2 separate regions of the Homo sapiens genome follow, and region 1 is linked to region 2. The links are contacts of gene promoters, found by promoter capture Hi-C in blood cells and fetal thymus (Javierre and others, 2016). All regions are on one chromosome and are shown on one strand. Each heading gives the region's core, a stretch centred on a gene start or on the middle of the fragment in contact. The rest is flanking DNA. Distances are from core to core; before and after follow the strand shown. Region 1 has its middle 6.4 kb from the start of TMT1B. Region 2 holds the start of SMARCC2 (SWI/SNF related BAF chromatin remodeling complex subunit C2).

Region 1 (2,740 bases), core at 18-2,517, 510 kb before region 2:
AGTAAGGAGTTCAGATTTTGTACCAAAGATAATGGGAATCCACTAAAAGGTTTTAAGCAGTGGGTGAAAGTGGAGAGACAGTTAATGAGGCCCTTGCAGTGGGCCAGGCAGCGGAGGGTCATGATCTGGTCTAGGGTTATGCCAGTGGAGATGAAAGAAATGCATGAAATTAATGAACTGGGAAATAGAGCTGACAGGACTTGTGAGTAACTTGAAAGTTATATATATATTGGCCGGGCGCGGTGGCTCACACCTGTAATCCCAGCACTTTTGGAGGCCAAGGCAGGCAGATCACGAGGTCAAGAGATCGAGACCATCCTGGTCAACATGGTGAAACCCTGTCTCTACTAAAAATACAAAAATTAGCTGGGTGTGGTGGTGCGTGCCTGTAGTCCCAGCTACTCAGGAGGCTGAGGCAGGAGAATTGCTTGAACCCAGGAGGCGGAGGTTGCAGTGAGCCGAGATCGCCCCACTGCACTCCAGCCTAGCAAAAGAGCGGGACTCTGCCTCAAAAAAAAAGAAAAGAAAAGAAAGTCATATATATGTTATAGAGAGATACAGATGGAGATGAAATGACATGATGTTTGGGATTTGCTTCAAAATGACACACAGGAGAAGGAAGCAGAAAGTAGAAAAGGATGTGGATGGGGAAGGATTGGCTGTGGGTTGATAGTTGTTGGGATGAATGATGTATACATGGGGGTATCTTATACTGTTCTGCCAACTTTTGTGTATATTCAAAATTCTCCATTATACAAAGTTAGAAATGAGAAAAGAAAAGGAGGAGACAGAGAAGAAATAGAATAAATCCTAGGTTTTTGGTTGAGCAATCAAGAAGCTAATGGTGCCATTCACTGAGATGATGAAGAAGATGGGCAGAGTAAGACAAGAGACTTGGGGAGTACCGTAAGTGTCATTTTGGACATGTTAAGTTTTATATGTCCAGAAGATATGCTGAGGAGGAGGATCAAGTACACAACTGGGTATACAAATTTGAAACTCAAAGGAAGGATCTGCACTAAAGATATAAATGTGTGAATAATTTGCATATACATGGCATTTTAAACCATGAAAATGGATGGGATTTGGTGAAAATTATGTGTCAATGTAGGTTCATCAATTGTAATAAATGTCCACTCTGGTGGGGGATACTGATAATGAGGAAGGCTAGTCATGTGTGAGGACAAAGGGTATGTGGAAAATCTCTGTACTTTCCTCAACTTTTCTATGAAGCTAAAACTGCTCTAAAAAATAAAGTCTATATTAAAAAAAAAAAGATGAGGTTATTTAATGAGAGAATTTAGACAGAGAAAGACCCAAGACTAAACCCAAAGAAACAAAATTTAAAGGTCGAGTAGATGAGAAAGATCTAAAAAAAGAAGTTTCTAAGAAGTAACAGCCACGGGAATGTTATAGAAACAAGAAGACTGTTATGTTAGGACAGCCTAGATGAGAGAATTTTTCAAGAAGAAATAGTAGCCAACTATTTCTGAAGCTGTTGAAAAGTCAGATAAGATGAGAACAGGGAATATTCACTGGACCTGGCATGTGGAAATAATTAATAGGCTTGATAATAATAGTTTCGGGTTTCTTTGTTTTGTTTTGTTTTGTTTTTAGAGACAGGGTCTCTCTCTGTCTCCCAGGCTGGAGTACACTGACCCAGTCATGGTTCACTGTAACCCTGAACTTGCAGGCTCAAGCAATCCCCTTGCCTCTGCCTCCTAAGTAGCTGGGGCTACAGGCGCATGCCACCACACCCGGCTAATTGGCTAATTTTTTTATTTTTTGTAGAGAAAAACAACAGCCTATGTTGCCCAAGCTGGTCTCAAACTCCTGGGCTCAAGCAGTCATTTCCTCTCGGCCTCCCAAAGTACTTGGATTACAGGCACGAGCCACCACGCCCGCCCAAAGTCATAATTCTTGAGTCATCTGCTCGTGTTATCTTGGTTTCCTCACCTTCCATTCACTCTTTCTCCCACTCCAATCCATCACTAATAAAAATTTCTTGGGCTTGGCACAGTAGCTCACGCCTGTAATCCCAGCACTTTGGGAGACCAAGACAGGAGGATGGCTTGAGGCCAGGAGTTCAAGATCAGCCTGGGCAACCCTGAGAGATACCCTGTCTCTACAAAAATTTTTAAAAGTTAGTAGGCATGGTGGTATGCACCTATAGTCCTAGCTACTCAAGAGGCTGAAGCAGGAAGGGCAGCACAACCCCAGGAGTTTGAGGCTGCAGTGAGTCAGAATGGTGCACTCCAGCCTAGGCAACAGAGCAAGATCCTGCCAAAAAAAAAAGACTTTGACATAGATTTGTAAAATGGAGTTTTAGCTAAAGTGACATGTGGTGTCAAGAGGGTCAGTTTATTATTAACCTGAAATATATTAGAGCATATTCATATTTTGAAAGATCCATGGAAAGGCAGAGATTAATGATTTAGGAGAAAGAAAGATAAAATGAAGACAAGAATTCATAGCAGCATTGTTTATAGTACCCCAAAAGTGGAAACAACCCAAATGTCTATCAACTGTTGAATAAATAAACAAAATGTGGCATATCTGTACAATGCAATGCTACTTGGACGTAAAAGGAATGAAGTATTGATACATGCTACAACATGTGTAAACTTTGGAAGCATTATGCTGTGTGAAAAGCCAGTCACATAGGCCACATGTAGTATGATTCCAATTACATGAAATGTCAAGAATAAGTAAATCCATACAGACATAAGTAGAGTAGTGA
Region 2 (2,700 bases), core at 3-2,502:
GGTAGAAGCCTGGGAATAAGAGCCTCTCACAGGCGTAGAGACATGCCATAGAAATAGCAGCTATTTGTCAGGATTCTCACACCCAGAGAGACCCCAAGGGCAGGGCCAGGCTCACAACCAGCATCAGTAGGAAGTTCTCCTAAGCCACTAAGCACACTTCTGACGAGCTGCAAAGCCGGCAGGAAGAACTGGGGAGCTGAAAGAAAGCCATAAAGAGAATCCCTCTCTGAGGGTAGTGAGAAAAAGAGAGGCAGACCATTTCCAGAGAAAACCAGGCCTAGAGACAAAGACGACACCAGGAAGAGGTTTGGTAGAAAAGACAGGTAAGGATTCTTGAACCTTTTGTTCACCACCTTATGATCTCCAGTTATGGGGTTTGGGTGTGAGGGGCTAGAGATAGGAAGCTCACCCTAACCTCTCGACCCCAAACCCAGGGTACTGCAAAGCTAGGTTGCAAGGTGACTTCATTGTAAAATCGAGGAAAGGTTTCGGAAGGGGCCGCTACCCAGGAACTCCTATACCCCGGCTCCCTGAGAGATTCTGTTGCCCCTTAGATGAAGGTGGGGGATGAGCGGCGGAGACAGGTGATCCCTGGGTGGAGACCTTTTTCAGGCTGATGAGCAGCCAACGGCTTGCTCTGTGACTGTTTACCCTCCTGCTTTCCATTCTCTCTCTCTGAACATACACAAAGCACCGGAGAGGCCTCAGCCCCGCTGGTACCTGGCTCCGTGGGGAGCTCTGGCGGGCACGCTCCGGGTTGCGGGGGAGCCCATTGGGCACCCGGTCCACACCCGGCCGGCCGCCTCTCCCAGAAAAGCCAGGAGGGCGATGGCTGAGGGGAAGGTGGGCTAATGGCACCGGGGCCCGCCGGGCAGTAGAGAAAAACAAGGGGCAGAGGGCGCAGCAGTGGGGGCGGGGGCTGGGCTCAGAGGCTGGGGGTGCGGGGAGAGGGAGGCTGGGGGAGGGGCGCGGGAGCGCAGGAGGGCGCGCGGGGGGCTGCTTGGGAGGCCGCGGGGGAGGGGCTGGGGCGCCTGGAGGGTAGGCAGGATCCCGGGGCTGCAGGGCCGCGGTCCCTTTGTCCCGCCCCCGGTCCCCGCGCGGCCCGGCCCGGCCCGCGTACCTTCTTGTAGTTCTTGCCGAGCCACAGCCGCACGTTGTCGAACTGGGTCACGGTGTCCGCGGCCTCGTAGTACTTCACGTTGGGGCCGCCGTCCTTCTTCCGCACCGCCATCTTCTCCGGCTCGGGCCCCGCCGCCGCCCGCCCCACTCAGCTCAGCTCCCGCCTCCTCCGCCTCCTCCTCCGCCCGCCTCCCGCCGCCTCCCGCCGCCGCGGCCGCCGCCTCCCGCCGCCTGGGCCGGCCCCGGTCCGCGCTGCGCCCCCTGCCGGCAGGCCGGGCGCGGCGGCGGAGCTCCAGGCGCGGGCCGACCCTGGCGGCCTCCCCGGCAGCGGAGGCGGGAGCCTCCGGGGAGAAGGACGCTTCCTGGAGGGGGCGCCATTCTCCTGAGATCGCTCTTACCAGACGCGAAGCCCTTTCCCTCTTTTTGCCTCAGCTCGGGAGTGTCACCTCGCTATCCCACTCCAGGCGGCCGCCAGTCGCTGGAGCAGCCCCAACCCGTAGACCCGAGTGGTCCTCACCTTGCGCATTCCTAACCCGACGAAGCCCCTCGTCCCCCAAAACCCCAAACCCCTTTCCCCAAGAAGTTCCTTCCTTCCATCCATTCACAGCAGCTCCCCATTTAAACTTTTCAGAGTCTCCCTCACTCCTCGCGCCTTGTCCACCCAGCACTCCCCTCACTTGTTAACCCAAATGTCCCCTAGTCGCCACCCTGGCGGCCCAGTGCCTTCCCTCAACTGCTTCCTCCGCAGGCCTCGCTGTCGCCTCCTAAGTAGGTGTGAGCTCCTACTCGAGACCCCGACTCTTCGCTAGGCAGGAGACCCTCCCTCCCTGGGTCACCCAGTCCATCCGACTCTTTTTCTTTGGGTGGCGTAGATAGGAGGTAAGGAACCGAGGGGTGGGGAGTCCTCAGGTGTGTGTGTGTCGGGGCCGGTACCCTGCTTCCGGTTCCCGCACGCATTCCCGGATTGCAGTGCGGACCCCTTCTGTAAGCGCGCGATAAAGCGCGGTTTTGGAAGTCACGGTGGCCGAGTGGTTAAGGCGTTGGACTCGAAATCCAATGGGGTTTCCCCGCACAGGTTCGAATCCTGTTCGTGACGGGTTTTTTTTTTTTTTCTTTCTTCTTCTTATTATTAAAAGGGAGTCTCGCTCTGTTGCTCAGGCTGGAGTGCAGTGGCGCGATCTCGGCTCACCGCAACCTCCGCTTCCCGGGTTCAAGCAATTCTCCTGCCTTAGCTTCCCGAGTAGCTGGGACCACAGGCATGCGTCACCATACCTGGCTAATTTTTGTATTTTTAGTAGAGACAGGTTCACCATATTGGCCAGGCTGGTCTCAAACTCCTGACCTCAGGTTATCTGCCCGCCTCGGCCTCCCAAAATGCTGGGATTACAGGCGTCGACTTTTTTAACCCCTTTCACAGCACATAAAGGTAACCCCAGTTCTCACACGTTTCTTTCGTGCACTTTCTCTCTCCAAAAGGGAAGCCGCCAAAAGGTCTTAACCCCTGGATTTGGGAGGATGGGAGTGATCTTGGGAAGTTTAATTATGCACGACTGTATTGGCTGCTAGACTGTGAGGCATTTT

What was found. The method cuts DNA at HindIII sites, captures the fragments that hold promoters and counts their contacts. A CHiCAGO score of 5 or more calls a contact.
Region 1: a fragment that was not itself captured here is called in contact with the fragment with the promoter of SMARCC2 in region 2 in 1 of 17 cell types (M2 macrophages); the score reaches 7.7 in M2 macrophages.

Annotation. Positions count from the first base shown.
Region 1 is chr12:55,673,952-55,676,691 of GRCh38, forward strand. No RefSeq gene overlaps it. Among named protein-coding and RNA genes, the nearest start is that of TMT1B, 6.4 kb to the right of the region's middle. The HindIII fragment of the contact is 3,457 bases long and covers 1-2,740 here.
Region 2 is chr12:56,188,231-56,190,930 of GRCh38, forward strand. It overlaps SMARCC2 (SWI/SNF related BAF chromatin remodeling complex subunit C2), which reads right to left and starts at 1,253. Exons shown (of 29, transcript NM_001330288.2): 1 at 1,121-1,253. The coding sequence starts at 1,231. It overlaps TRS-CGA4-1 (tRNA-Ser (anticodon CGA) 4-1), which reads left to right and starts at 2,134; the gene lies at 2,134-2,215. LOC107984468 (a long non-coding RNA gene) reads left to right here and starts at 2,462. Exons shown (of 2, transcript XR_007063330.1): 1 at 2,462-2,700. RefSeq lists silencers at 990-1,209, 1,280-1,559 and an enhancer at 1,800-1,899. The HindIII fragment of the contact is 5,408 bases long and covers 1-2,700 here.